Regions from separate parts of the Homo sapiens genome. Here all the other regions are linked to region 3. Evidence: promoter capture Hi-C in 16 types of primary human blood cells and fetal thymus (Javierre and others, 2016). All regions are on one chromosome and are shown on one strand. Each heading gives the region's core, a stretch centred on a gene start or on the middle of the fragment in contact. The rest is flanking DNA. Distances are from core to core; before and after follow the strand shown.

Evidence for each region. The method cuts DNA at HindIII sites, captures the fragments that hold promoters and counts their contacts. A CHiCAGO score of 5 or more calls a contact.
Region 1: a contact is called between the fragment with the promoter of H2BC6-AS1 here and the fragment with the promoter of H3C10 in region 3, in 16 of 17 cell types (erythroblasts, total B cells, monocytes and 13 more). The highest score is 25.3, in erythroblasts.
Region 2: a contact is called between a fragment that was not itself captured here and the fragment with the promoter of H3C10 in region 3, in 2 of 17 cell types (neutrophils and monocytes). The highest score is 7.4, in neutrophils.
Region 4: a contact is called between the fragment with the promoter of H1-6 here and the fragment with the promoter of H3C10 in region 3, in 14 of 17 cell types (monocytes, M0 macrophages, total CD4 T cells and 11 more). The highest score is 18.2, in monocytes.
Region 5: a fragment that was not itself captured here is called in contact with the fragment with the promoter of H3C10 in region 3 in 2 of 17 cell types (neutrophils and non-activated CD4 T cells); the score reaches 9.5 in neutrophils.
Region 6: the fragment with the promoter of H1-2 here is called in contact with the fragment with the promoter of H3C10 in region 3 in 17 of 17 cell types (non-activated CD4 T cells, total B cells, neutrophils and 14 more); the score reaches 20.7 in non-activated CD4 T cells.
Region 7: a contact is called between the fragment with the promoter of TRIM38 here and the fragment with the promoter of H3C10 in region 3, in 8 of 17 cell types (non-activated CD4 T cells, neutrophils, total CD4 T cells and 5 more). The highest score is 15.1, in non-activated CD4 T cells.

The regions. Positions count from the first base shown.
Region 1 is chr6:26,171,490-26,174,215 of GRCh38, reverse strand. H2BC6-AS1 (H2BC6 antisense RNA 1) reads left to right here and starts at 1,443. Exons shown (of 3, transcript NR_186648.1): 1 at 1,443-2,181. RefSeq lists an enhancer at 1,477-2,369. The HindIII fragment of the contact is 22,011 bases long and covers 1-2,726 here.
Region 2 is chr6:26,081,996-26,084,993 of GRCh38, reverse strand. No RefSeq gene overlaps it. Among named protein-coding and RNA genes, the nearest start is that of HFE, 3.9 kb to the left of the region's middle. The HindIII fragment of the contact is 4,963 bases long and covers 1-2,998 here.
Region 3 is chr6:27,808,406-27,811,327 of GRCh38, reverse strand. H3C10 (H3 clustered histone 10) reads right to left here and starts at 1,277. Exons shown (of 1, transcript NM_003536.3): 1 at 792-1,277. The coding sequence starts at 1,254. The coding sequence ends at 844. H2AC13 (H2A clustered histone 13) reads right to left here. Exons shown (of 1, transcript NM_003509.3): 1 at 2,661-2,922. The coding sequence ends at 2,726. RefSeq lists enhancers at 268-939, 1,034-1,323, 940-1,611, 2,295-2,893, 2,812-2,922. The HindIII fragment of the contact is 5,605 bases long and covers 1-2,482 here.
Region 4 is chr6:26,106,791-26,109,490 of GRCh38, reverse strand. H1-6 (H1.6 linker histone, cluster member) reads left to right here and starts at 1,356. Exons shown (of 1, transcript NM_005323.4): 1 at 1,356-2,079. The coding sequence starts at 1,398. The coding sequence ends at 2,021. The HindIII fragment of the contact is 5,524 bases long and covers 1-1,729 here.
Region 5 is chr6:26,005,974-26,008,823 of GRCh38, reverse strand. No RefSeq gene overlaps it. Among named protein-coding and RNA genes, the nearest start is that of H1-1, 10 kb to the left of the region's middle. The HindIII fragment of the contact is 1,649 bases long and covers 584-2,232 here.
Region 6 is chr6:26,055,086-26,057,785 of GRCh38, reverse strand. H1-2 (H1.2 linker histone, cluster member) reads left to right here and starts at 1,316. Exons shown (of 1, transcript NM_005319.4): 1 at 1,316-2,046. The coding sequence starts at 1,358. The coding sequence ends at 1,999. RefSeq lists enhancers at 1,264-1,663, 1,754-1,803, 2,214-2,700 and a silencer at 2,294-2,363. The HindIII fragment of the contact is 9,556 bases long and covers 1-2,700 here.
Region 7 is chr6:25,961,352-25,964,051 of GRCh38, reverse strand. TRIM38 (tripartite motif containing 38) reads right to left here and starts at 1,250. Exons shown (of 8, transcript NM_006355.5): 1 at 1,197-1,250; 2 at 770-1,003. The HindIII fragment of the contact is 6,907 bases long and covers 1-2,700 here.

The DNA of each region.
Region 1 (2,726 bases), core at 194-2,693, 1.6 Mb after region 3:
TTTTGTTTTTTAGAAAAAAATGCCTATTATGAGAAAAAATGGAAACCAGGAGAAATTGCAGAGACCATGTTATTTAAATAAATAGCTGATTATATAGGGTTTATTCTAAGAATAGAAGGAAGTTTAGTATTCTAAATCTGCCAGTTTAAGAAATTAATAAAGGAAGGCCCAGAGCAGTGGCTCACGCCTGTATTCCTAGCACTTTAGGAGGCTGAGGCAGGTGGATCACTTAATGTCAGGAGTTCAAGGCCAGCCTGGCCAATGGCGGCCTATCTTCTTCTGATAATACAAAACTTAGCCAGATGTGGTGGCACGCACCTGTAGTCCCTGTTACTTGGGAAAGTGAGGCAGAAGAATCGCTTGAACCTGGGAGGTAGAGGTTGTAATGAGCTTAGATCAGGGCACTGCACTCCAGCCTGGGAGACAGAGTGAGATTCCATCTCAAAATAAAAACTAAAATAATAAAAAATAAAATAAAATAAAATAAAATAAATAAAATAAAAAAGAGATTAATAAAGAAAAAACATGATCATCTCCAAAGATACTGCGAAAGCATTTAACAAAATATAACACTCTTTAATCATAAACACTTAACAGACTACAATGAGAAGAGAACTTCATAAGGAGGAGCTACAGCGAGTATAACACTTAATGGTGCCGTTTTGGAAGGATTCCCATAGAGGCGGAAGGAAGACAAGTGTGGTGAGAAAGTACTCCTATTCAACACGGCATCACAGGGTTTGGCCAATACCATGAGATAGGAACAGGCAGTCAGAAGAGCAAGGATTCAATAGGAAAAGATGATTATCTTTGAAAATAACATAATTGTCAAGGTAAAAGTTCACAAGAATCTATAAACAATTAGATCAAATAAGAATTGGAATTAGTGGGCATAGGCCAGGCGTTGTGGCTCACGCCTGTAATCCCAGCACTTTGGGAGGCCGAGGCGGGCGGATCACGAGGTCAGGAGATCGAGACCATCCTGGCTAACACGGTGAAACCCCGTCTCTACTAAAAAATACAAAAAAACTTAGTCGGGCGTGGTGACTGTAGTCCCAGCTACTCGGGAAGCTGAGGCAGGAGAATGGCGTGAACCCGGGAGGCAGAGCTTGCAGTGAGCCGAGACTGCGCCACTGTACTCCAGCCTGGGGGACAGAGCGAGACTCCGTTTCAAAAAAAAAAAAAAAAAAATTAAAGTCATATGAAGATTAATATGTAACATCTTCTTCGACTTAAATGTTCATTTTTTTCCTTCTGACTTTAGAAGAAATTAAAATATTTTCATGAGCCTCCAAAAGAACTGCGGACCCTAGACACCGTGCCTGCTGTTTAATGGAGTACGGCACTGCGTGTACCGGAAGATGATTTTTTTAAAAAAAAACTCAATTAGGAAATAATTATTCGCACACATTCATATACATACATACATACACTGAATCCTCACACGAAGAGCCCTACAGGCGTGAGAACAGTAAGGGAGATGCAAGAAAGGTCTCCTTGGAGTTGGGAGGCGTATTTACAGCTACTAGAGAAGGGGGAAGTGCCAGCTCCCCGAGAAGAAAGCAGGAGGATGCTGAGAGACTAAAGCTGAAATTTTCTGCCTGCTTCCTCACTCTTTTCGTTGGTTTCAGCCGTCTGAAAAACCCTTGTGAGAGGAGCAAAAAGGTCAAGGGAAGATTGTTGCCTTGCTCTCAGTCTTCAAAATTTTCGATCCTCCGTTTTTTTTGTTTTGAGACGCAGTCTCGCTCTGTCGCCTAGGCTGGAGTGCAGCGGCGCGATCTCGGTCACTGCAACCTCCGCCTCCCTGGTTCTAGCGATTCTTCTGCCTCAGCCTCCTGAGTAGCTGGGACTACAGGCGCGTGCCACCACACCCGGCTAATTTTTTTGTACTTTTGATAGGGACGGGGTCTCACGGTGTTAGCCAGGATGGTCTCTATCTCCTGAACTCGTGATCCGCCCGCCTCGGCCTCCCAAAGTGCTGGGATTACAGGCGTGAGCCACCGCGCCCGGCCGGTCCTCTGTTTTTAAACTGTAAAGGACTCCAGCGGATTGTTCGAAGTCTCCGATATCCCGCGATCTGGTGGCCGCAGAAGAAAGAGGCCGAGTCGGCGGGGACTGGGAACCACCAGTTAGCGGCCTACGGGCAACCTCCCGGACGCGCGCGCCGGGCCGACGTTAAACGTACGTGACGCCCTATGCGGGAGCCGGATGGGCGTAACGGGGCGGCGGCGTAACGTGTGGCTCTGTGGTTAGGGCACGGAGGGGCGTGGCCGGACGGCCCTATGAGGGGGCCGGCGTTTTTGGCGAGGGTTGATGGGATGACCCTATGAGGGAGCCTGCGTGGAGGGGCACGACCGGCCCCAAGACTCCTTTTCATGGCCGCATAGCCGCACCGGGAGTAGGATGACCGCTGTTATTTTTCAGGACCTCTCATCTTCGGTTTGAAATTCTTTGCTTTTTTCCGGCTTTGTGTGGCTATTTAGTATTAGCATTTTAGGGCAGTTTCATTTCCTTTAAAGTAAAACTCTCCAAAGTGGTCTCCGGACCAGCAGCATCAGCATCACCTGCATAATTTAGAAGTACAAATTATCAGGTCCTACCTCAGATCTAATGCATCAGAAAAGTTTTGTGACTGCTTCAAAACATTGTTTCCCTTAATTCAGATGCTGGAGGAGACCTTTCAAATGGCAGCTTAGCATAAGCTAACCAGTTTTTAACTTCAGGTT
Region 2 (2,998 bases), core at 98-2,597, 1.7 Mb after region 3:
TTATTCATTCATCAGCCGATGGACATTGGTTTGTTTCTACTTTATGGCTATTGGGAATAGTGCTGTTATAAACATTTATGTACAAGTTTTTTTGTAGACTTATGTTTTGATTTCTTTTGGTTATATATCTAGAAGTGGGTTTGCTGGGTCATATGGTAACACTGTTTAACCTTTTGAGGAATTGCCACATTCTTTTCCAAAGTAAGCATTTTATCCTCCTATCAGCAGTGTATGAGAGTTCTGATTTCTCTCCATCTTTGCCTGGGTTTTTGAATCAGGGCCCCAGATAGAACAAAAATGTGGTTATTCAGTTGTTCCACCATCACTTGTTGAGAAGACTCTTTTTTCATTGAAGTGTTTTGGCACCCTTATCAAAAATCAATCTACCATAAATGTGAGAGTTTATTTCTGGAGTCTCAATTTTATCCCATTATGCTATAATCTATAATCCTATCTTTTTTTTTTTTTGACAGAGCCTCACTCTATTGCCCAGGTTGGAGTGCAGTGGCCCAATCCCGGCCACTGGCTCCTCCTCCCAGGTTCAAGCAATTCTCCTGCCTCAGCCTCCCAAGCAGCTGGGATTACAGGTACCTGCCACCATGCCTGGTTAATTTTTGTATTTTTAGTAGAGACGGGGTTTCACCATGTTGGTCAGGCTGGTCTGGAACTCCTGACCTCAGGTGATCTGCCCACCTCAGCCTCCCAAAGTGCTGGGATTACAGGCATGAGCCACCACACCCAGACTATAATCCTATCTTTATGTCAGGACTACACTGTCTTGATTACTATAGCTTTTTAGTAAATTGAATTCAAGAAGTTTCTCAACTTCAAATTTGATCTTTTTTTGGAAGACTATATTAGCTATTCTCAGTCTGCTGAATTTCCCTAGGAATTTTAGGATCTATTATCAATGTCTATTCTATTTTTGTATATGTTTTAATATTTTCATAAGAAACTTTTTTCATTTAAACTTTTTTTTTTAAGAAAAATAGTGAAAATCAGAACACTGGGGGTCAGGCGCATTTAACAGGCAGAAGAAGAATAAAAACTTGTCATATAAACAAAAAAGAAATGACCAATCACATTGTGGAAGCCATGGAGTGGTTATAGGTGCCAAAGGCTGCAGAGAAATGGTGTCAGATATACCTGAAAATTGTCCATTGTATTTGGCCATTAAGAGACTTAGAAGACTTAAGCCATAGATTGCTCAGTGAGACCCCGAGGGCAAATGGTCTGAAGGTGAATAGATCATTTCACCTTTAAGAGAGCAGGTAGGAAGCTATAAATCCAAGATTAAAAAGTTGACTGAACTGTTAAGGAAGAAACTCTAATCTTGAGCCACCCTATCCTGGCTCCACCTTCTGCTGCAAGCAAACAGAAATGCTGAAATTCAACACTCACAAAGGCTGGTAAGCTGGAAATGACAAAAATTACTCCTGGGAAAGTCAGATTTAGAATTAGGCCATATTTGTTGGGGTTCAGATTTTCATGTACACTTGGGAAAGGGTTTAGCTTATAGGCACATGCATGAAGGGAACTGGTATAGGGCTGTGTTCATAAGGTCAAGAGTTGAAGGCCAGGCATGGAGGCTCTTGCCTGTAATCCCAGCACTTTGGGAGGCCGAGGCAGGAGGATGGCTTGAGCCCAGGAATTCAAGACCAGCCTGGGAAACATAGGGAGATGCTGTCTTCACAAAACAATTAAAAAATAAAATTAGTCAGGTGTGGTGGCACACACTTGTGGTCCCAGCCACTCAGGAGGTTGGGAAGATCACTTAAGCCTGGGACATTGAGGCTGTAGTCAGCCATGATAGTGCTACTGCACACCAGTCTAGGTGACAGAATGAGACCCTGTCTCCAAAAAAAGAGCTGTATCCACATCCCAGGAAAGTGGTTGAAGATCTACTTTTCTCTGTAAACCTAATAAAGAATAGAGTGACAAATGTGTGTTGTGGAAAGAAATGGGGTGAGAGCTACGTAGATGCAAAACAATACATCCCCACATACCACTTGTTAATCATCCTTTTCCACCCACTTATGGGATGAATTGCATCTCCCCAAAAGATACTCTGTCCTAACCCTCAGTAGCTGTGAACCTGACCTTATCTGGAATACGGTGAGTTCACTGGTTAAGAAGAGATTATAGTGGAATAGGGTGAGTCCTCCAACCAATGACTGGGGTCCTCACAGACACAGAGGGATGATGGCCAGGTAGAGATGGAGGCAGAGATTGGAGTTATGCTGCCACAAACCAAACACAGGAAGCTGCTAGAAGTGGAAACAGGCAAGAAAGAATCCTTCCCCAGAGGCTACAGAGGGATCTTGGCCCTGATAATACCTTGATCTCAACTGGCCTACGTAACTGTGAGAGAATAAATTTCTTTTGTTCTAAGCCACCCAGTTGATAGTACTTTGTTACGGCAGCCCTAAGGAACTTGATATACATTTCTTTTACTGTCATAGAAGTTTTGAATCTTTTAAGTAGGTCTGTACCCTTCCTCCCAGTGTCAACACATGGAATTCCTCTCCTTGTGCCTTGAAAAGTGAAAGGTGTTTGAACTGGTAATGAAAGAAATCTCAGCATGAGGCCAGATGCTGTACCTCACACCTGTAATCTCAGCACTTCGGGAGGATGAGGCGGGCAGATCACTTGAGGTCAGGAGTTCTAGACTACTCTGGCCAACATGGTGAAACCCCATCTCTACTAAAAACAAAAAATGTTATCCTAGCCGGGCATGGTGCCTGTAGTCCCAGCTACTCAGGAGGCTGAGGCAGGAGAATTGCTTGAACCCGGGAGGTGGAGGTTGCAGTGAACTGAGATCACGCCACTGCACTCTAGCCTTGGTGAGAGAGCAAGACTTGGTCTTAAAAAAGAGAAAAGAAAAATGAAATTTCAGCATTATAGAATAAAAATGTTTCCCCTTCCCCCCAAACTTTAAAAAAGCAGAAGTCTGCATCATAAAATGGTCTTTGCCAATGTTATTTTTATTATAACAAAG
Region 3 (2,922 bases), core at 28-2,527:
TGACAAATTCTAGGGTGAAAAAAATAGGTGGGGATTATACAGATTTTATTTAGTCATACAAAGCCTCATTGAGAAAGTAACATTTAAGCAAAGACTCAAGTATTTTATCCTGTGCTCAAAAAAACTACCACAGGCTTACCTACAAGGCAGTCTTATTTTGAATACTCCTGACAGTTCAGAGTTTTAGCCACTGTCAGCAGAAGTCAGAGAAAACACTTTCTCTCCCACACGTATTTTTACATGGGGCTTCAAAGGGAATGTTCTCTGGCGGGCTTTCTCCAGAAGACTTTTAAACCTCAAACCATCTGTCATTAACTACATTTAAGTGGTTTAAGCAGGCCCAAAATCCGGCTTGAAAAAATTCAAAGAAAACTTAACACTGCTTAGGAACGGGGGGCGGGGAGAGAACGTTTCACTTTAGCCAGCATGAGCTACATTAACCTGAATTTTTCCAACTTCAGTACAACCTTAGTTTTATTTCTGGCGTGTTGGCAAGAAATATACACACACCACAGTACAGGTTAGCAGAAAATTAGAAGCACCATCCGGTCAAAACCGGGCTGCGGAGATGGGAGAGCAATACACGAAGGAACTTTTGGCTACACTCAATGCTTACGGAAAAATGCCGGACATTATTAGATGTTAAGACTCCCAAAATTAGCATTCAAAAAGGGATAGGCTGAGTCTTACGAAACAGATTGTATAACGTCTGGAAATGGGCCCTATCTACTACAGGCAAAACAAGTACCAGGAAGAATTCCTGAGAGAAACAGATCTTTTCAGCGCGCATGTGGGTGGCTCTGAAAAGAGCCTTTGGGTATGTAATCAGTGAGTCCTTGAGACTCAAGCCCTCTCGCCGCGGATACGACGTGCGAGCTGGATGTCCTTGGGCATGATAGTCACCCGCTTGGCGTGGATGGCGCACAGGTTGGTGTCCTCAAAGAGCCCCACCAGGTAGGCCTCGCATGCCTCTTGCAGCGCCATCACCGCGGAGCTCTGGAAGCGCAAGTCGGTCTTGAAGTCCTGCGCGATCTCACGCACCAGACGCTGAAAAGGCAGCTTTCTGATCAGCAGCTCGGTGGACTTCTGGTAGCGGCGAATCTCGCGGAGAGCCACTGTACCAGGCCGATAGCGATGGGGCTTCTTGACACCGCCGGTGGCCGGAGCGCTCTTCCGAGCCGCCTTGGTGGCCAGCTGCTTGCGCGGAGCCTTGCCGCCGGTGGACTTGCGAGCAGTCTGCTTCGTACGCGCCATGCCTTCAGAGCTAGATTCACTTCAGGAGAAAGAGAAAGCTAGCCGCTTATTTATAGTGAGAGTCTGAAGCTGATTGGACAAAAGTATGCTGAAGGCCTACCCAACAGTAACCGGATTGGCGAAGGACTCAAATTTTTGTTGTTCACCTATTCCTCTGACAGACTTAGCAGTTCATGGTCTCCATATTTTATTTTCTATTTTCGCTATACAGTTGTTCACTATACTAGCGATTTCCAGTGGAAATGAGAGCAATATAAGTAATTTACACTTATCTAGGAGAACATTGTAACAAAACAAGGAAAAATTAATTTTTAATATTTTGCTTAATCCAATATAGCCAACATATTTCAATGTTATCGAAATTAAAATTGTTAGGTATTTTACACTTTTTGGCACTGACTTTTCCAAATGCAATGTGTATTTTATATAAAATTCATGCTATGGAATTTCCAATGATCACTATCCACAATTGGCTAGTGGCTGCAATACTGGACAGGACAGCCTTATACACCTGTCCCCTCAATTTTCTATCTTTTGACCACTTAAATTTAAAAAACTTCTATTTTTATAACCAAGAAAAGCTGGTTCGCATGTGAGAAATTCAAGGCCAAAAAATGTCAAAGAAACAACTTTATGTGAACTTTTCACTTTTAGATTAAAGTAATTCCATTGCAGCTTATTTTTCCAATACTCTAGAAATGTAATTCATTTTCTTTTAAGAATCTATTCCATTCGTACATCCAGATCTGATTCAGATTAAAAACATCAAGTCAGATATTTTAAAAGTGGAATTTACCATGCTGAAACAAATTAAGTCATCTCTGTACTAAGAAATCAATTTGTGTGGCTGGGGGTGGGAAAGCTCGGGAAATTTTAATTTCAATGAATTTTCAGAAAATGCTTCAAAGAGAACTACCTGGCACCATAAGTAACTGTTCTAATTAGTCTAATAATTATTCTCAACTCAATCATTAATGTTCAAATGCAATTAATTATACAGATTCGAGAGATATTTCTCAGAAATGAAGAATCCAAGTCGTTGATCTAGATTTGGATTGAACGTCGAATGCCCGGTTTGTTATTTACCAAGACCCAGAAAACATCTGGCCCCAAAGCAGACATGTTTGCTTCAACAGACTAAAAGTAAAACCCGACGGTGAACCATACAGAATTCAACATACTTGGATAATGCCAGCTTAGGAAAAACTAAATTTTCTTCCACTAAGCTTAAGATGAAGGCGTGTTTAATACTTTTAATGTTATCCAGGCTTTTTATAAAGCTAACGAGATTGTCACTACCTAACCAAGACACCGAAGACTGATCTACGTAACCTTTGGAGTGGTTTAGAAGTAGGCAAAGACGAGAAATTACATTAAACATAGTGCTCAGTTCTTCCACAAAATTGTAGGTGGCTCTGAAAAGAGCCTTTGGTTCCTTTGGGATTGAGTTGCTGCAAACTAATCCAGGCTTCTACTTGCCCTTCGCCTTGTGGTGGCTCTCGGTCTTCTTGGGCAGTAGCACGGCCTGGATGTTGGGCAGGACGCCACCCTGTGCGATGGTGACTTTGCCCAGAAGCTTGTTGAGCTCCTCATCGTTGCGGATGGCCAGCTGGAGGTGACGCGGGATGATGCGAGTCTTCTTGTTGTCGCGGGCCGCGTTGCCAGCCA
Region 4 (2,700 bases), core at 107-2,606, 1.7 Mb after region 3:
CACAAATGGCCCTTATGGAGTTTTCCTTTGCTGAGACCCTATGCTCTGGCCACACTAAACTCATTCAGCATCCCAGAAAGGCCTCAGCCTTTGTGAGCAAGCTCTTATCTCCAGGCCTCTCACAAAGACCTGTTCCAGTAGAAGCTCAGGGGAGCACACTGGACATTATTCCAACAACCCTTTCCCCACAGCTATGCAGCCAAATCTGCCAGCTCAGTTAATTAATTAAGCAATTCAGAGATGAGGGTCTGCCCAGGCTGGAGTGCAGTAGCTGCGACCTCAAGCTCCTGGGCTCTAAGTGATCCTCTTCAGTCTACCCAGAAGCTGGGACTGCAGGCATGTGCCACCACACCCAGCTAATTTTTTTTTTTTTCAGTAGGGACCAGGCCAACCTAGTCTTGAACTCCTGGCCTCCAGCCTTCCGAAGTGCTGTAATTACAGGCATGAATCACTGCGCCCAGCCAACCCGCCCAGTCTTGTTAGACATGGGGTCTGTAGTTTCTAGTAGGTTCTTGAGTCTAGGGTTCCTACCTCATGTTTTATAGTTAATTTAGGGGAGGGACTGTGTCTGTTTATCTGGGGATGTAGGGGTGGGCAGGGGGATAGAGGGGACTTCAATTAATGAAACCAGAAGCAAAACTCAGTTGAGGACACCGGTCATGAGAGTGGCCTGATTATGGCCAATCTTACATAATGTGTGAGATCTTGATATTACCCCATCCTTGAGAGTCCTCTATAAAGCTACAGGGACTTGGGAGCACCTTTAATTACAGACAACCCATGTTCCTGTGGATTATGATTTATTAGATTGCACATGCCTAAATAAAGACATCCTCTGCAGTCTTTTGACAATTCTATAAGCATCTTCTGACTCCGCAATTAGACAGCTAAGAGATCTGTGTTACTTCCCTCACATATATAAATAATTTTAAATAAAAATCATGGCGTGAATAATTTCTTTCCTCTACCGATTTGAAGCTATCCATTTGGAAGACCACTCTGAAGAGATGAAATAAGTCTTCTGCCAAAGATTACTTATTAATTTACAAGGAAAAGGGGAAGTTTTGTTCCTCTCCGTGAATTTGATTGAAAATCGAGGGCTTTCTCGAATAGTTTTGGCATCCAGGGTCATTTTTCATTAAAAAGAGAAAAGTCATGTCAAATATGAATTTCCGCAGATTATTCAGCACTAGACCCTGGGAGATTCTGTAAAGAGGGGTTTTGTTATACTCAACTTTTCCGGGTAAAACAAACACAAATACTCCTCCTCCAAGGGGCGGGGGCGGTGCCTAGGTGATGCACCAATCACAGCGCGCCCTACCCTATATAAGGCCCCGAGGCCGCCCGGGTGTTTCATGCTTTTCGCTGGTTATTACATCTTGCGTTTCTCTGTTGTTATGTCTGAAACCGTGCCTGCAGCTTCTGCCAGTGCTGGTGTAGCCGCTATGGAGAAACTTCCAACCAAGAAGCGAGGGAGGAAGCCGGCTGGCTTGATAAGTGCAAGTCGCAAAGTGCCGAACCTCTCTGTGTCCAAGTTGATCACCGAGGCCCTTTCAGTGTCACAGGAACGAGTAGGTATGTCTTTGGTTGCGCTCAAGAAGGCATTGGCCGCTGCTGGCTACGACGTAGAGAAGAATAACAGCCGCATCAAACTGTCCCTCAAGAGCTTAGTGAACAAGGGAATCCTGGTGCAAACCAGGGGTACTGGTGCTTCCGGTTCCTTTAAGCTTAGTAAGAAGGTGATTCCTAAATCTACCAGAAGCAAGGCTAAAAAGTCAGTTTCTGCCAAGACCAAGAAGCTGGTTTTATCCAGGGACTCCAAGTCACCAAAGACTGCTAAAACCAATAAGAGAGCCAAGAAGCCGAGAGCGACAACTCCTAAAACTGTTAGGAGCGGGAGAAAGGCTAAAGGAGCCAAGGGTAAGCAACAGCAGAAGAGCCCAGTGAAGGCAAGGGCTTCGAAGTCAAAATTGACCCAACATCATGAAGTTAATGTTAGAAAGGCCACATCTAAGAAGTAAAGAGCTTTCCGGGAGGCCAATTTGGAAAGAACCCAAAGGCTCTTTTAAGAGCCACCCACATTATTTTAAGATGGCGTAACACTGGAAACAAGTTTCTGTGACAGTTATCTATAGGTTTAAGTTGTGATGCAGCTGAGTTGAAAAGGCTTGAGATTGGAGAATTAATTCAGGCCAGGCTTCAAGACCATCCTGGGCAACATAGCCAGACTACCATCTATACCAGGGGTCCTCATTTCCCCGGCCACCGACCGGTAACCGGTCCCTGTCCATGGCACGTTATGAATTGAGCCGCACAGCTGAGGGGTGAGCGAACATTAACCAACTGAGCTCCACCGCCTGTCAGGTTAGCTGCAGCATTAGATAGATTCTCATAAGCTCAAACTGTATTGTGAATGGCACATGCAAGGGATCTAGGTTTCAGGCTCCTTGTGACAATCTAATGCCTGATGATCTGAGGTTGGAGCAGTTTTAGTCCGGAAATCATTGCTCCCAGCCCCTGCACCCCCTGGTCCGTGGTATAATTGTCTTACACAAAACGGTCTCTTGTGTCAAAAAGGTTGGAGACTACTGGTTTTACAAAAAAGTAAATTAGTCAAGCATGGTTGGCACGCTCCCTTAGTCCCTGCACCCAGGCGTTTAAGGATACAGTGAGCTATGATGGTGCTACCTCACTCCAGCC
Region 5 (2,850 bases), core at 159-2,658, 1.8 Mb after region 3:
TATTAAAATATCAGGATATAAAAGCAAAAAAATCAATAACCTCCATATATACAAAATGGCCAGTTAGAGAAAAAAAAAAGAATAGGCGAGACTTAAAAAGGCTGGGAATCTCCCTGAAAATCTTTGAGAGCCTTGGCCCTGCCCTCAGGGATTTCTCTGGCTTCATGCCCAGATACGGGTACAGTTCCTTGTTTAAAAAAATTTTGCTCCATCAATCAACAAGGGGCTCCTTCCTCAGAGCACAAGGACCTCCATAACACCGGACACTAGATGTCTAAGGGACACCTCTTAAGGAAGTTAGACTTCCAAAGAATGGTGTTTCCTCTGTCCCCAAACTCTGGAACTCACAGCACAACTGCTCCTTGGAGTTCGGTTTCAAATCTACAAGGCTGTCATGGAGGTTGCAGACCAAGTCCGTGGCCTCAGTGTCCGGATGTACGGTGGCCTTGGCACCTGAATGTGAGAACATGACCTCCCTGAAACCACCACAAGTATTGTTTCATGTTATGTATGTTTTTTCTTATCTGAAATTCCTTTTCTTTAAAAATTCAAATTACATATTTTGCAAGCCCCTGAACAAGCTTCATGAGCATTTATTGAACCCACAGCTTTTAAAACCTACTGAACACTTTGCTCTATGTTGTCATTCACTATCCACCAATTATTTAATTATTGATCAATATTGTTTCCTTAGTGTTGGGATCATTTATGCATGTATTTCTTTTATATTGCATATTTTATATTTCTGCATTACAGTTATTACATATTACTTTTGCTACAGTAATAGTTCAAAAGTGTACATCCAAAATTTAGCTGTGAAGTGGATGGACTGAGGCAGAACTGGAGGCAAGAAAATGTCACAGTAATTCTAAAAAAGATGATGTACAATTAGAGCAAGAGAGTAGCACTGAAATTGAAGAAAAATAGATGCGTTTGAGAGAAAATTAGGAGGTAGAATCAACAGATTAGATGTAGGGATGAGAAGGGTCAAAGATGACACTAGGGTTTTTAACTGGAGCAAGTAGGTAGACAGAACATTTCTTCCTGAAAGGGCAGGTCAGATCATGTGTTGTCTCAAAGGGCATGAAGAGTAGAAAGCCTGGGACAGATCCTGAGATGACCAATACCCATGGTGCAGGGAGAGGGAGGGAGATCTGCTAAAAAGACTGCAAATGTCAGGATAGTAGAAAATCATGAGTGTGTGATGTCCTGGAAGTTGAGACAGTATCACATTTGAGAACATTTAAATTGGTAACTCTGACAAAAAGCTGGAGGCCAACTGTGAATGCCCATGAGAGTGAGAAGCTCCCACACTTTTGTGGGCATCAGAAAGCCCACCAGGTTCCTGCAGTGAAGATCTGAGAAGGATCCTCTTGTGGCTTTGGCAGGGAGAGAAGAATTATTATGAAATACACCCCAGAACCTTCTTCAAAACAAAGGCCTACTCTCAAGGGGAAAACATTTTGCCAGAGTCTTATCCCAGCTGGGAGAAGGTAATTCTTCCCACTGCAGCCTCATCTAGGCTTTCTGTCTCACTTAAGGGAAGAAAATTAGTCAACAGGGATCAGAGCTTCATGAAAATAAATTGGAAATGGTGCAGCCAGGAAAGGAGCAAAGGTCTGAGGAGGAGGAGAAGGAGGAAGAGGAGTTGTATCATTATAAATACTTGAGGAAGAGGAGGAGAAGGAGGAGGAGGAGGAGTTGTATCATTATAAACACTTGAGGAAGAGGAGGAGGAGAAGGAGGAGGAGGAGTTGTATCATTATAAACACTTGAGGAAGAGGAGGAGGAGAAGGAGGAGGAGGAGGAGTTGTATCATTATAAACACTTGTGACGGTCCCAGCCCCAAGATATAGGCATGCTAATAAACTGAGGCTTAACACTTTGACTACAGAATGCTGCTTCTCCCTAACACCATCAAGGCTCCAACTGAATAACAATGAATTATGAATGAAAGAGCTGTAAGGAGAGACAAAAGTTAGAATGAGACAAGTATTGTTATCTAGAGATGCCAAGAAGGCAAGGAAGATAACTAAAAAGGCACTCTGGATTTAGAAATAGGAAGTCATTAGTGACCTTGTAAATAATGGAGCCAGAGGAATACCAAGGGCAGAAGCCTCACTATAGTGTGTTGCACCTGTCAGAGGTCAGGAGGTGTAACTGACTCTCCCACAGTGTGGCTTTGGAAGAGAGAAGTCAGCAGCTGCATGGAGATTTGGGAGAGGGAAAGCTTTTTTTTTTTTTTTTTAATTGGAAAAGACTGAGCTATGTGTAAATAGAATAAGACAGGAAGAGTGTAGACACAGGAAAGAGGGCAGACAAAAACAAGTGCACAGTTATCTAAGGGAAACAATGGGATCAAGCTGCAAGTATATAAACTTGTCTTGATAGAAGAATCCTTGATCTGGTTTATTCAGTGTTTGGTCCAAACCCACATCCCTGTTCTGCCTGTCTCTGACTTGCTCTGTGCCCCAGAAGCCCAGCTTCTACAGATAGCATTAGCTGGGCAGCCCTGCCCTCTTGCAACAGCTGGATTTGGCCAGTGATCAGCCCAGCAGGAATGTAGATGGCAAAGGAGAGAGAGGTTAGTGTACTTATTCCCTGCATCACCCCCCTGCTTGGTGGGCAGCTCTTCCTCCACAGTCCCAGCTCTGGCCTAGCTCTGGTTACAGGTTCCCTCCCATTGCCTCTTCAGATTTAAAGGTGTGTCTGTCAGGGTATAACTGGGAGCTAGAAATTGCACTGAAATTGAACAAAGAATTTTATGGGAATGGTTGTTAACTAGTTATAAGAGGACTGAAAATGGAAAAGTGGACAAACGTATCAGAGATAGTAATGACAGAAAGCAAC
Region 6 (2,700 bases), core at 67-2,566, 1.8 Mb after region 3:
TTTGCCTTTAATCTCAAGAAAAAAATAGCAATTACTTGGGGTCGGAGAGTAAAATAAGAAGTAGTGAACCTTAAAGTAGCAAACTTTAGAACAGAATAGTTTCAGAGGGGATGAGAAGAGGTGATTTTTCAGCTCATCAACAACAGATCTTATAATAAATTACATGTTCTGGTACTTTTCTTGTCTTTCTGTGTTAAATTTTGCTATTTAAAAAAATAAATTTCAAATACATTGTTCATCTTAAAAGTCAAGAGTGTGTTTTATTAAAGTCAGTTGCTTTATTTGCAACTCAAAAGATATATTTGAGTTCCCAACTGGAGATTGTCCTATATGGTAACTTGCGTAAGGTATGGTTACTGAAAGTAACCTACAATTTTCATGGGCTGAAATTCATTTCTATATTGCAGCGTACAAAAATAAATAAATAAAAAATGCTTGTTTTCTTTGAAAACATATTATCTCAGTGCCTCTAACTGCCAAATCTATTGGCTTTTTTGCAGGCTTAAGGGCTCTCCCTTGTTCCTTTATGATCTCTATCTTGAGGGCCAGACCTCCTGCCTTACACAACTCAGAGGGGGACCTCAGAGCTCTTTAAAAAGAGCCCAATTTCTCGCCTGTAGAGAAGTGAAAAGGATGCCCCACCCCCATCTATGAAAAGAGGGATTTGATAGTTTCAATGTCTTCAAATCAAAGATTTAAGTCTGTAGCCCCCCACCACCCCGGACCCTAGCAAGGCTCATGAACCCCCTCCCATCCCGCCCTAATTGCTTTGGACTGGCCGTGGAATCCTTGTCCCAGTCCACAGTTCCTGTGCGACTGCACGAAGAATTCACAGAGGACCTGTGTTACTTCCCTTGTGAAGAAACAGAATTATCATGAAAATTTAGGTGGAAACCATTTCGCTTTTTTCTTCAAAAATAAGGGAAGCATGTGCCCAACCACCCCTGGGAAAAAGAACCTTCAGGGGCAAAGGAGCGAACAGGTAATTTATAAGAAAAACAGAAAGTGGTCTCTGACTGCCCCAGACTTCCTTCGGAGTTGGGGGAATTGGGGACGCCTGGACGCGTTGTTTTTGTGTTTGTGGAAAAAATAAATGAAGAGCATGAAGCCCGAGGCTTCTGAGATCCTTTCCTGACCAAACCCAAGTGATTTGGTGCGGGGAATTTTAATATTTTTCCCCTTTTGTGAGGTGGAACAAACACAACTTGGGAGCAGCGCAGCGGCTCAGAGCCTGCCAGCCAGGCGGGCGACCAGAGCACCAATCAGAGCGCGCCTGCGCTCTATATATACAGCGGCCCTGCCCAGGCGCTGCTTCATCGGCGCTTTGCCACTTGTACCCGAGTTTTTGATTCTCAACATGTCCGAGACTGCTCCTGCCGCTCCCGCTGCCGCGCCTCCTGCGGAGAAGGCCCCTGTAAAGAAGAAGGCGGCCAAAAAGGCTGGGGGTACGCCTCGTAAGGCGTCTGGTCCCCCGGTGTCAGAGCTCATCACCAAGGCTGTGGCCGCCTCTAAAGAGCGTAGCGGAGTTTCTCTGGCTGCTCTGAAAAAAGCGTTGGCTGCCGCCGGCTATGATGTGGAGAAAAACAACAGCCGTATCAAACTTGGTCTCAAGAGCCTGGTGAGCAAGGGCACTCTGGTGCAAACGAAAGGCACCGGTGCTTCTGGCTCCTTTAAACTCAACAAGAAGGCAGCCTCCGGGGAAGCCAAGCCCAAGGTTAAAAAGGCGGGCGGAACCAAACCTAAGAAGCCAGTTGGGGCAGCCAAGAAGCCCAAGAAGGCGGCTGGCGGCGCAACTCCGAAGAAGAGCGCTAAGAAAACACCGAAGAAAGCGAAGAAGCCGGCCGCGGCCACTGTAACCAAGAAAGTGGCTAAGAGCCCAAAGAAGGCCAAGGTTGCGAAGCCCAAGAAAGCTGCCAAAAGTGCTGCTAAGGCTGTGAAGCCCAAGGCCGCTAAGCCCAAGGTTGTCAAGCCTAAGAAGGCGGCGCCCAAGAAGAAATAGGCGAACGCCTACTTCTAAAACCCAAAAGGCTCTTTTCAGAGCCACCACTGATCTCAATAAAAGAGCTGGATAATTTCTTTACTATCTGCCTTTTCTTGTTCTGCCCTGTTACTTAAGGTTAGTCGTATGGGAGTTACTGAGGTATCAGACGAATTGGGTGACGGGGTTGGAGAGTGGCCGTGGTGAGGTTACAGCATTTAAACCTTTATTGCGGCTTCTAGGTCCCTGACCGGAGGCTTTTCTCGCTGGCGGATGGTTTTGGGATGGCAGTCCCGCCCCAGGCCTGTGAACGGCAGAAAAGACCGCAAAACAAGAGCCAGTTTCTTAGTCTAAAGGGATGTCCGGATTGGACTAAAAAATTTTCAAAAGTCCCGCCCTGCTCCCGGGTTGGTCCGTTCTTCTAGTACATGACTTTCATTCTGTATTTAATTGGATGGTGGAAGACGTTGCTTATTCTGTGTTTTTTGCTTTACTGTGACTTAAAAGTTTTGCCTCTTTTCTCTTTATATTAATGTCTGGGATTTCGGACGCTTTCCATGTTGTTGGTAGTCAAGTTGATGTCTCCTGGAGGTAGTGGCAACATCCAGCCCTGGGAGGAGAGTGCGTGCAGGTACCTTTGTCCTACATTCCTCTGCTGTTAATTTCTCATTCCTGTGGCAACGAAGGAATGCATTTAAAAAACAGCCACAACAGCGGCAATA
Region 7 (2,700 bases), core at 1-2,500, 1.8 Mb after region 3:
TGTTCCCTTGGCTCCTACACCATCATGACAATAAAATTTGACTCCACCTCGACCCCCCCCATCCCCCACAAAGAACAACAACCAACACTGGTTAATAAGGTCGGTTGTTTTTTGTTTGTGTTTTTGTTGTTGTTGTTTTTGCTTTCAGGAGCAGAGGTATAATAGGCAAAAGAAAGAGAAAGGAGAATAGTGAATACCTCTTCTGCAGAGAGGGGTGCCTAAGTGGGACTTCCCTGGCTAATAACGTCTTGCTAGAGACCCAACCAGGAGGATAATGGAAGCAATCAAGGCAACCAGAACAACCAGAAGAACCGGTTTATCCTTTTTGTGCCCTCTCCCTAAACTGAGGGAATAAGAATTGGAAAGAAGGCTGCAGAGCAGAGGGTTTGCTCCTGAGGAGCAGTTATTTCTATGGGATCAGAGCTCCTGCAGAACTGGGGAGTTTACTTTTACTATCTCTTCTCCAGGACAGGACCTATCTCAAGAGACATGTTCAGAGTGATTGCAACATAAAGAGTTTGCAGACCCAAGGAGGTAGGGAAGGCAGAAAGAAGATGGGGGAGGCCAGGGATAGGCAACAGAGGAGTGACCAGGAGCGAAAAAGCCTGCCTCTTCTGAGAACCTAGCTGGGCTCTCCCTGTACCCCCGATCCCTCCCCCCCGCCCGCCCCCACACCCCTACTCCTGGGAGCTCCTCTAGGACAGGGGCAGAGTCAGGAGGAAGTTTGAAGAGTGCCTAGAATAAAAAACAGTAATTTAACTACAATTACCGGGTAGGCTGTTTTCCTCTCACAATTTGATCAGTCTCTTGAAGCCACACAGAATTTCTTCTGAAGACGTGTATTCCTTGGCAGGCTATTTCCTCCAGTGATACACCAGGCCCCTCTCTGCTGGGGTCACTGCTCTTCTGGGGAGATGGGGCTCCCCTCCTTCCAAGGCTCCAGGGTTCCTGTCCTGGGCCCCACTCATCTAAGTTCTGAATCTTCTGAGATTTGGTGTAAAGTCTGGTGAAAGAAAGAGCAGGAAAGAGGTGAGAGCTGTAAAACAAAGAAAGTCCTGACCATTTTCAGAGTTGGAGGGGCCCTGCTGTCACGAAATATATTCCCCACCCCACTTGCCATCAGTACACACTCACATATCCACTGAGAAAACCTTAGCCTGGACCTTTTCCGTAACCTTCACTGCTCAGACACTTACATATTCGCTGCTAGTCCCCTCTGTTGCTGCCACTTCCTGGGTCAGGAAGTTAACTCAGACCGGATTAAACTGAGAAGTGAAACTACTGTGGGAGGCGGGGCTCATAAGATTTAGGAGAAAACTAGTGACGTTGTTCATATCATTTGCACTCCGCCTCTCCGGTAAAGGAGGGGGAAACGTAGGAAGAAAATATCCTTCTTTTACAGCAATAAAAAGAAGGAACCAATTAATAACCCTGTAAACTATCATGTGACCCCAACACAGAGTATCTAAAAACAGGAAGCCTGCAGAGGTTCAGTTCACAGACTCTGATTTGAGATCTTTCTACTTTTGCCACCAACTCCCTTGGGAGTCCTTAAGCCTTCCTAGCTGATGTTACTTCTTTTGCTATTTATGGGTTGCTTGTGGTTCTATAACTGCTCTGAAGGGTGTGGTGGAAAAAGGGGTGGTAACAGCAGTAGGACTCATTGGCATCACAAAATTCATCTGAGTCAGCTTTCTATTCTTCTCTGTCCCGTTCTGTGTCTTGTTTTTCTCCTTGCTGTCCTTCTGCAGGACTCAGATCTTCTTCAATAGCGAGGGTCAGCCAGGATAGAAAATGGGAGTCACTAGTGGCCCAGCAGTGAGTGCCCCCAGCTTAGAGCTGTGTGGGATCCCTGGGACCATCACTCTGCTTTGTGCTTTGTGGAGAAAAGGCTGTGGGGTCCAGGGTCAAGTCCTTAATGACTTAGCTCCAGCTTCTCCACTTCAAAATGAAAGGAAAAGTACTATCACCACCCGTTAGAATTATTATTTCATGGGGAAAAAAGATGGATTACTATCTCACAATAAGAGCTTGTCACATTTATAAGTCTCAGGTGTAAGAGGCATTTATGATAACAACATAATAAATGCTGGCTTAAGTAGATGCAGTGGTCCAAGGGAACCAGTAAGGGGAGCTCAGGACACAGGTGGGAGGAGAAATTAAACTTGAATTCTGGGAGCCACTGGCCTGTCTGGGCCCCTGGCCTGCCTGCTGACCCTGATAGCCAATGGAACATGGAGTTTGGCCCAGCTGCAATCCCTCTGGTCCAACTACTCAAAATAAAGGCAAGATTGGGAAACACGTTCCTTTCTTCCTATACCAAGCAGAAGACTCTTCAGCACTGCACCCTCCTGGGTGCTCACAGAGCCTTCTGTTGTTTTGCCACCTACGATTCATCATGCCCTGGCATGATGGTTGCAGACCCCATGCATAGCATGGGACATTCTACTCCTGAGGCAACCAGCACACAGAGAGAGGAGAAAGAATGAGCCCCTGAATCCTTGGTCCCACGATGAGTCCTTGCAGATATCTACAACTTTCATTGTTGTGGATGTGACTCTGTACCCAGGCATGGCTCATTCCAGATCTGTCCTATTGTCAGAGGTGTTCAAACCAGAATGACTCCATTTTGAATGGGGGCTAGGTAAAATAAGGCTGAGACCTACTGGGCTGCATTCCCAGGAAGTTAGGCATTGTAAG